2 separate regions of the Homo sapiens genome follow, and region 1 is linked to region 2. The links are contacts of gene promoters, found by promoter capture Hi-C in human tissues and cell types (Jung and others, 2019). All regions are on one chromosome and are shown on one strand. Each heading gives the region's core, a stretch centred on a gene start or on the middle of the fragment in contact. The rest is flanking DNA. Distances are from core to core; before and after follow the strand shown. Region 1 overlaps PHF12 (PHD finger protein 12). Region 2 holds the start of NUFIP2 (nuclear FMR1 interacting protein 2).

Region 1 (4,592 bases), core at 1,315-3,814, 390 kb before region 2:
ACAGACCTCAGATTCCAGGGCCAGTTTCCTATTTAGCTGCACTGCGGATTCGGGTTTCCATTGTAGATGCTGTGGGATGAGGCTGGGGGTAGAATATTCATTTTCTATCCCTAAGGCAAAATCCTGACACACAAGCAGATGCACCTACACAAACAGTGCTGGAATATACACAGAGGTGCTCTCCATCTGAGGAGGCTGACCTCAGGAAAACTTCCTGGAGAGTTTTTCACTAAGATCTGGGAGGAAAGCATGGAATTTGGTTTAATGAAGGTCCCCGGGACTTGAGAATTAAGGTAATGCAGCAGACTCGTTTTTTGATGAGGAATAGCAGTTGTAGAGAAGTGTGACTGCAGATCACATGACTAGAAGTGACAGGTCAAGACTAGATTCCACTATCAGTCAGGGTTCTCTGGAGAAACAGCTCCCCCCGGGCCAGCAGACGCACCCATGTCATTCCATTGTCATCCACCCACCCTGGCTCACTTTTCTCCAACACCTCCCCTACCAAACTTCCCTATGGGAATGAGACCTGTTCAAAAGGCCCCCCACCTGCTAGACCCAGATCTAGGGGAGGGTCTCCTCTAAGGGTGATGACAGGTAGGACAGACAGTCAGAAAACAATTTGAAGTATTTTTGTTTTTTATATACAGAATACAGGAAAGTTTCTGTAAAGTCTAAAACATTACAATTACTATGTACATTGGTACTGGTTGTGGGGGTGGGAGGAGAGGAGGGAACCAGGGGCAGGAGGAAGAGGAGAGAAGTGGCAAGAGAACAAAAAAAGGAGACAAAACAGGTTTACGACAAAAACATTTTTGCTACAATAGACAATTTGAGAAAACGCTCTACCACATGTAGTACTGTACACGGTTTTTAAAAACATTGAAAAAATGTCATCACTAGATGTATTTACACAAAATCCAAATACACTTTTCCTTATTTGAAATAAAATAGATGGACAGCCAGAAAAAGAATTCATTTCTCATTTGTCCATAATACACAGTAGCTACCTGTAGTGCAACCGCTGCAGAAAGGGAAAATAACGTGGAGGGTGGGAACCATGGAAGGAAGGTGGGTAGCGATCTTTATATTAAATAAAACAATGATATTGTATAGATTTTGCTGTATGAAAACTGTATTTTTTCTTTTAATATAAAACTATTGTCACTGCCACAAAATAGAACAAGTTTCTGATTATTTTACAATGGTGGGCGAGGGGGAGGGAGCAGGAGGTGGGTGGGGAAGGGTTTTGTGTTGGAGGAAGTGTCCAGACCCTGGGTCTTTCCCTCCCTGCCCACGCTGTTCCTCAGCTCAGGTCTGCCGCTTTCCCATGAAATGTTGAGTACAAATATATGTGCAAATGCCCCCTAGAACTTGAGAAAAGAAAAAGGATTTTTAAAAAACAGTCAAAAGGTTTTCTTCATTTCATGCAAAGATTGTAGTTGAAGGGTTTCTGGTAGAGTATAGAAAACACCCGGGCTTGGTTTGTGTACATTTTTGCATTGCAGGAGTCTTGGGTGGGTGTACAGGCCAGTGGCGGGGTAGCCGCCAGTCCTAAGGAACAGAGTTGGAGCGCAGCACAGGGCCCTGGTGGGGCTTGAGAGAGAGCTTCTCGGCCAAGACCCCATCCTGCAGCAGGCTGGCATCGCCTTTGGGCTGTTTGGTCGCAAACTCAGTGATGCTGAAGACAAACTGCAGGCAGCCCAGCTTGATGTAGCTGCCATGGTGCAGTAAGGCTGTGCCCTCCCAGCCGGCCCCACTGCCCCCAATCAAGCTCGAGCTGCTGGCTTTGCAATTGCAGGGTCTCCGCTGCGGCCCCTGGGCCTGGGAACTCATCATGGCTGCCTCCTCACTTGGCTCTTCGTCCTGTTTCTGGTGCCGGCGGCGCCCTGGGAAAAAGGGGGATGGTCACAGAAGAGGAACAGTGAGCAGCCAACCCATGTGGGCTGTTTGCCAAGGTTGGGCTCCTGCATCTCCCCATTCCAACTGCTGCATGACTAGGGAGGAAGGATGCTCAGAAAGGGTTGGTGGAGTCTGAAGTCCCCACAGGTGTGTACACACATGGGGGTACTCAGCACTTGCTTCTCTGTGGCCTGCCCTGGGCCCACGAGGAAGTAGAGCTTGGCCAATAGGACTGGGAAGGCAAGAGACAGACCATGGGCAGCAAGTCAGAACCACCCTGACTGGGGCCTCAGCTTTGTGGCCACAGATCTCTGCTCCAACTTACTGATGACACTCTGCACTTTGGCAACAATACTGCTTGGGGGGGTTGGCGGGGTCTTCTCCGAGAAGTCACATGAATACAGCACATTGTCCACCGTTGTCCCATGCTCACTGTAGTTTAACAGCTCATAATGTTTGGTATTCTGAGGAGGAGGAGGGGAGATAAGATGTGTGGTCTGCTGTGTGGGGCCTGGGGCTAAGGGGAGAGAGGACATATGGAGAAGGCCGTGCTACTCTACCTAGAGAGTCCTTACTTGCCTCCCCAGTCATGGCCCCTGTCCTTTCAGAAGGGGGCTGGAGACACCTCCTCAGGGAAGCTTTCCTTCTGGTGTCCCACACTCCCTACTCTCCCACTCCTTCACTCTGCCCTCTCAGCACCGCTCCTCTTGGTATGATACTCACTGGCCCGTGATGATAATGAAATTCACAGGGACACACCCACAAGGCTTGGCTTCCTTCTATGCTGGTCCCCTCCCTTGCTTTAGGGTAGGCTCCCTCTGTTGTGCCTGTGACTAACCTCAGGAAAAATGGTAGCCCTGCTCCTGGGAAGCAGGTAGCTTCCCAGGTAGGATGCTATTTCACATCAAGACTCTCCTCCTCCAGGAATGACAGGGAGGGAAGAAAAAGAGAGGACCCCCAATCCCTCTTCCCTCCCCTCAGGGCACTGAACAAAAACCTACTGCCTGGGAGAGGCCTCAGGTTGGGAAAGCTCCCTCCCACCGCATCTCCGGCCCTCACCTCATCGTAGAATATGCAGGCATGTTTCCCGGACACGTAGTTACAGTGACCATAGTTTGTAAGGCACACATCCATGTCAGCTCCTGCAAGGTGGCAGGAGTAGAGGAAAAGGAAGGCAGAGAACAGATTGTAAGGTGCATGTGTCGGGGAGGTAAGACAGGGAGAGAGTTAGCTTCTGGGTTGGCACTAGCAGAGACTTCAAGGGTGAGTAGCTCAGGGCCCTCCCCTTTTATTTTTGAACAAAAACTGTTGTCTTTTCCAAGCTCCTGATAAAGAACAGCTGTCCCTGCCAGCTGATCTGCTTTAGAACATGTGGCTGCTACCCAGAAGGGAAGAGTGAGCTACTGAAGAGGATGGGATATTTCTATGAAAATACAACATCGGGGTGCAGAGCCTAGAAAATCTTATCACCTTAAAGAAAGGGAAGTTTCTAGGGTAAGGGCTAATCTGTCTGTCCTTCTGTACCAGATACAGAGCTATCGGTCTCTAGGACTTTTAGGGAAAACAAAACAAAACAAAAAACAGATACAGGGCTAACTGAAGATTGGGTATGTGTGAGTCTATCACTCTTTCAAAGACCACCAGGGACAAAGCATCTGCCTTCTCCTTAGGTTCTTCCCTGCAGTGTTTAAAGTGCCTCCCTGGGCAGTAGTCAGAGCTGACTTTCATCTCTGCTGTTGCAACACTGGGCAAAGACAAAGCAAAAGGGCCTGAACAAGGGAAGACAAGGAACTGATTGTCTCTTTTATTTTTGAGACAGGGTCTCACTCTGTTGCCTGGGCTGGAGTGCAGAGGCACAAAAAGGATCACTGCCTGGACCTCCCAGCCTCAGGTGATCTTCCCACCTCAGCCTCCCAAGTAGCTGGGACTATAGGCATGTTAGCCCAGCTAATTTTTTATATTTGTTTTTGGTAGAGATAGGGTTTCACCATGTTGCCCAGGCTGGTCTCGAAGTCCTGGGCTCAAGTGTTCCTCCTGCCTTGTCCTCCCAAAGTGTTGGGATTATAGGCGTGAGCCACCGTGACTGGCTGATTGTCTCTATTCTTAGTTTCTCTTGTCTAGCTATCCACTGATTTAAAGCAGTCAACTCTGGAAAGGGCTTCCCTCACCCCTTTCTAACTTCTGTGGGTAAGGGTGTCAGTCTTTAGGGCTGAACAGATTCAGTGTCTCTCCCAGCTTCCTGGCTGGCTCACCTGTCCCGATGTAGAGGGTTCGATAGCACATGTTCACAGCTCCTCCCAACCCTAAGAGGGGGTAGAACACAGCTCGGGCCTGTACCTCCTTTCTTTGCACTACAAGACAAACATAGGAATAGGATCATTCAGAAACTCAGATCCTGTGATCCAAACATAAACCAACAAAATCTGGACCTTTGGCTCATGGCCTGGAGAAAATCCCGCTGGATGACTCATCTTTCCAAACTCACATCCAACACTGAGCTGCGGCAGGGTAAGGCTTTCTCTCCCCACCCACAGCATTTCCAACACAGGGTACAGAGGACCATCTTTGAAGATGGTCAGAGAAGTCAGAGATGACAGTACTGTGTAAGTTCCTGGGCTCCTGGCTGGCTAATCCGGGATATTCCAGCTGGTACTATAGGGAGAATATGGAAAAACAGACGGCATGGACCA
Region 2 (5,125 bases), core at 73-2,572:
AGGGACCCGCCCGGGGCCGCGCGCCGCCACCGGGTTACACAACCCCGGCCGGCGACGGGGGGGGGGGCGGCCGCGGTGCGGGGGGCGCCGGCGCCCCCGCAGTGCAGGGGGCGAGGCTGCGGCCGGTGGTGATCCCGGGTCACCCGGCTCCGCCGCCCCGTGTGGCCCTCGACACCCTTCCCCCTCCGCTCCTCAGTGGGCCGGAGTCGGTGACAGGAATCGGCTTCCAACATGGCGGACAGGAAGCGGCCCCGCGAGGAGGAGAGAACATTCCAGCCGCGCCGGCTCTGGGGGGAGCGGGCGCGGGGCGCCGGCCTCGGGAGGAGCCGCGGGACAAGACTGCGGGGTCCGGCGCCCAAAAAGGGCGTTTAGTGGTGGAAATGACCCGTGAGATGAGGGGTCCCAACAGCCCCCCCCACCGAGACGGGGAGCCCCAAGGCCACAGGTGGGCTTGGGGTGGCGGGTGAGGGGCACTTCCTCAACTCACCCTACCTACCCACTCCTCGCCGCCTGCAAAAGGGTCTCGCGACACCATCCGAGTCGGGATTCGCTAGGCCTTCCTGAGTTACACCTCGAGGGATTTTTTGGGGGGGTAGGTTTACCCCATCTCAGGGCCCCCAAATTGAGGTAACTCCAGGGACGCAGGGAGGTGAATGGGAAAAGAATAATGAGGTTGGACTTGCAAGGCCGACCCAGCAGGTCTCCCTTCAGCCGGGGCCGGGGCCAGGAAGGTCACGCTGGCCTGGCTGGGCCTCTCCCATGCTGGAGGGAAGGAGAGGGCGCTGCAAACCCCATTGCTCAGCCCGAGCTCTAGAATGAAAGGGGCATCCCCAGAGCCGGAGGGGACACACACACACACACCCCGACCCCGTCCGCGCTTTTCGGATCCAGCCCCACCCCCATCTCTCCTGTCCTCCACCCCCAACCCCCTTCCCCCACCCGTCCTCCCTCCCAGACCTGTTTTCTTCTTCGGCGTTTCCTGGTGCTGCTGGAGGGTGTGTTTCTGCTCATGTTTCAGCGGCTTTGGCTGGGCCTTGGGGCTGCCCTCGGCTCCATGCTGCAGGTATTGGTGAGGCTGCTGGTGATGATGGTGGTGGTGGTGGTTGTGGCTGTGGTTGTAGAAATAATAATGGTGGTGGTGGTGCGGCTGCTGCTGCTGCTGCTGAGGGTGATGGTGCGGATGGTGGTGGCTGTGATGGTGCTGAGGCTGTGGCTGGCCGGGCTTCTCCTCCATTGAAAGCGGCTGGGACTCCCTGGCTGAGGCTGCGGGCTGCTGCACCGTCAGGATCTGAGACTGCTTCTCAGGGCTCACTCAGTATATCTGAGCGCGTCTCGCCAGCGCACTGGTTAACCGAGCGATTCTGCGAGATTGGCAGCCGCACTCCAACAATCAGGAGCCACGCTGTGCCGCAAGCCCCGCCCCCAGCTCAAATCCTCTTTCCTTCCCCTTCGCCGCTGCCGCCTGGCCAACGCCACTTACCCTGTGCAACCTCACAGGGCCGGGCCTTCAACGTCAGCACTATGGCTCTCTCTTCTGTCGCTTTCTCTCCTTCACCACGCAGTCTGTGAACAGCACTTTCTACACTCCTCGCCGGCAAGCAGGCTCGTGTCGAGGGTAGCAGATTCCACTGGCGATTCCACTGGTGCTGTGAGCCATCTGCTGGCTTTGCACCTCTTAGAATCTGGTGTTTTTTTGTTTTTTGTTTTGTTTTGTTTTTAATCCTTTTCCGGGTAACCAGAAAGGGAAGCTCAATTCCCTTAACCCCGAGACCACTAAAGGGGCAATACAAAAAGAGGAAATAAATACATTTTTAAGCATACAAGAGCTTCACAATCCAGTAGATCATTTTGTATTCTGGATTCATTTTGCTTTGTATTCATATGCTAATCTCTTCCTTTCCACGAAGGGATTATAGGGTTCCACAATGGGGTATCTGTGTAATTTTCTAAAAGGGCACAAAGGGTTTAAATCATTGTTTCTTTGTAGTTGGAGGCAAGGGAGAGCAGGAGGAATGAAAATTTACACTGAAGGTTTTTTTTTTTTTAATTAAACTCTGCAGGTGAGGTCAACTGTGGAACCAAAATAGGTTTTAGAATGAGAAGTTTCAAGAGCAAAGGAAGGGGAGAAAGAGCACTTAAAAGTTATTAAGTGGGTTTGTTTTTTTTTTTTTTGGCACTTATGGAAAAATTGAAATTAAAAGAAATATTCTGTAGCGTTTTGTAGTGTAGATTTAACTTATCCTGCATTACCACATCACAGTATATGATTTTCAAAAGCAAATGTTAGAGCCATGATAGTGGTTACTCAGGAAGGAAGAGGGTTGTGATGGGGAGGGACACAGGTTACTCTGATAATATTTCATTTTGGGGGCTAGGTGGTGATTACATATATTTGCTTAGTAATTATTTGTTAAACTGAATATACAGATAAAATGCACTTTTCCCAATGTATGTTATAGATTGGGGGATTTTTTTAATTGTAAAATATTCATAATATAAAATTTACCATCTTAATATTAAGTGTATGGTTCAGGTGCATTAGGTACATTCGTATTGTTGTAGAACCATGACCATCATCTATCTCCAGAACTTTTTCATCATTCCAAACTGAAACTTCATACCCAATAAAAATAAATGTCCTTTCCCTCCTCCTTCCATCCCTTGATAACCACTGTTCTGTTTTCTGTCTCTACGAACTTGACTATTCTAGGTACCTCATATAAGTGGGATTGTACTGTATTTGTCTTTTTGTGACTAGCTTTTTTGCATAATGTCTTCAGAGTAGCATACATCAGAATTTCCCTCTTTTTTAAGGCTGACTAATATTCCATTATATGTATATACCACATTTTGTTCATTCACTCAGCAACGGACATATGGACTGTTTCCTCAATGTATGTTACGTTTTTGAATTTTTAAAATGTGGCTTGAATTCCTACAACAGGACAACATTAAAGGAACAAGAAGCTTGAAAGCAAAAAGTTTATGCTATGAAATTAATGAATGTCAATGCAAAAGCTTATTTAAAACGTAAAAGCTGGTTTCCAATAACAAATGTCATTGAATCCTGAAAACCATGACCAAATTTTGGCATGTTCTATACAGTAAGGATTTGTGTTGCCTTGTTAAATTTTATTTTATTTTATTTTGAGATGGAGTTTTGTCCTTGTTGCCCAGGCTGGAGTGCAATGGCATGATCTCAGCCCACCGCAACCTCTGCCTCCTGGGTTCAAGCAATTCTCCTGCCTCAGCCTCCTGAGTAGCTGGGATTACAGGCATGCGCCACTGTGCCAGGCTAATTTTGTATTTTTAATAGAGATGGGGTTTCTCCATGTTGGCCAGGCTGGTCTCGAACTCCTGATCTCAGGTGATCTGCCCACCTCAGCCTTCCAAAGTGCTGGGATTCATGAGCCACCAGGCCCAGCCAGCTTTGCTAAATTTTAAAGAAAAACCTCTTTGGGGGTACATTTACCCAATTTTGAGAATGAAAACCCTAATAATAATATCATATCACAATAAGTCTTTACCACTGAATAATATTCTGCCACGTTCCCAATTATTAAAGAAAAAACAGGTCAGGTGTGGTGGCTCACACCTGTAATCCCAACGCTTTGGGAGACCATGGCAGATCAGTTGACCCAGCAGTTCGAGACCAGCCTGGGCAACATACAGAGACTCTCTCTCTACAAAAATTTTTAAAAATTAGCCTGGCATGGTGGTGTGTGCCTGTAGTTGGGAGGCTGAGATGGGAGGATGACTTGAGCCCTCCAGGTGGAGGCTGCAGTGAGCTGTGATTGTGCCACTGTACTCCAGTCTGGGCAACAGAGCGAGATCCTGTCTCAAAAAAAAAAAAAGAAGAAGAAAGAAAGAAAAGTATATATACAATTTAAGATTATGTTGGTATTTTTTGTTGACTTAGACATTCAGTTGGAAGGCTTGAATTTCTGAGTTCCAACTTCCCTGTCTAGGTTTTCTACATTATACCTGCAGGCAAACCAAAAGCACTCATTCTGTATTTCTGATTTATCACACTTTTGCCTACCTTTAGCTTTTCACTTACAGTTGTACTGACTGAGTTTAATAAACTAAATCTTATTCTCAGATGCTCTAGTTACTATGAATGTTGCCTTAGTAGTATGCAGTAGTATGAAGAAAGGCTTATGATATAATGTAAGAAAAAAAGCAGAATATTACATTCTTGTATACATTAGAATCATAATCTTGAACACGAATTTTAAAAATAAGAATGGAAATACAACAGTAAAACACAGACCTTTTTTCTTCTTGATTTTTCTGAAGTTGTTTTATATAAAATATAATTGGGATTTGCCAAGAATGTGAAATATTCCATTATAATAATGCCCTTAGCCGGGCGTGGTGGCACACTCCTGTAAACCCAGCACTTTGGGAGGCCAAGGCAGGCGGATCACGAGGTCAGGAGATCGAGACCGTCCTGGCCAACATGGTGAAACCCCGTCTCTACTAAAAATACAAAAATTAGCTGGGCACGGTGGCACATGCCTGTAATCCCAGCTACTCGGGAGGCTGAGGCAGGAGAATCACTTGAACCAGGGAGTCGTCGGAGGTTGCAGTGAGCCGAGATTGTGCCACTGCACTCCAGCCTGGAGACAGAGCAAGACTCCGTCTCAAAATAATAATAATAGTAATAATGCCCTAATACTAAACTTTTGGTGAGAAGAAAATAACTGGGTCTACTTATTTCAAGCATGTTTTTATAAAACGGAATCTGCATTAACGAAGAAAACACAAGAAGGGAATATAGCATAAGTCTGATGAAATTATAGGTGCTTCTTTTTTTCTTTTCTCTGTTTTCCAAATGTTCTGTAGTAGTTGTTACTTTTCATATACATTTTTTTTTTTTCTTTTTTGAGACGGGCCTCACTGTGTTGCCCAAGCTGGAGTGCAGTGGTGCCATCATGGCTCGCTGCAGCCTTGACCTTCCTAGCTCAGGTGATCCTCCCACCTCAGCCTCCCAAGCTGGGACTACAGGCACATGGCACCATGCCTGGATGATTTTGGGGTGTTTTTTTGTTCTGTTTTTTGTTTTTTTGTTTTGTTTTGTTTTGTTTTTGAGACACAGTCACGTTCTCTCACCCAGCCTGGA

The links. The method cuts DNA at HindIII sites, captures the fragments that hold promoters and counts their contacts. A contact is called where the count stands out against the background at its distance.
Region 1: a contact is called between a fragment that was not itself captured here and the fragment with the promoter of NUFIP2 in region 2, in 1 of the 25 tissues and cell types used here (aorta).

The regions. Positions count from the first base shown.
Region 1 is chr17:28,904,629-28,909,220 of GRCh38, forward strand. PHF12 (PHD finger protein 12) reads right to left here. Exons shown (of 15, transcript NM_001033561.2): 12 at 4,155-4,253; 13 at 2,962-3,044; 14 at 2,228-2,366; 15 at 622-1,889. The coding sequence ends at 1,555. Among named protein-coding and RNA genes, the nearest start is that of DHRS13, 3.8 kb to the left of the region's middle. RefSeq lists an enhancer at 1,218-1,718 and a silencer at 4,103-4,397. The HindIII fragment of the contact is 5,059 bases long and covers 36-4,592 here.
Region 2 is chr17:29,292,826-29,297,950 of GRCh38, forward strand. It overlaps NUFIP2 (nuclear FMR1 interacting protein 2), which reads right to left and starts at 1,323. Exons shown (of 4, transcript NM_020772.3): 1 at 958-1,323. The coding sequence starts at 1,234. RefSeq lists silencers at 1-171, 802-921 and enhancers at 628-1,388, 1,082-1,181, 1,492-1,691. The HindIII fragment of the contact is 16,686 bases long and covers 1-5,125 here.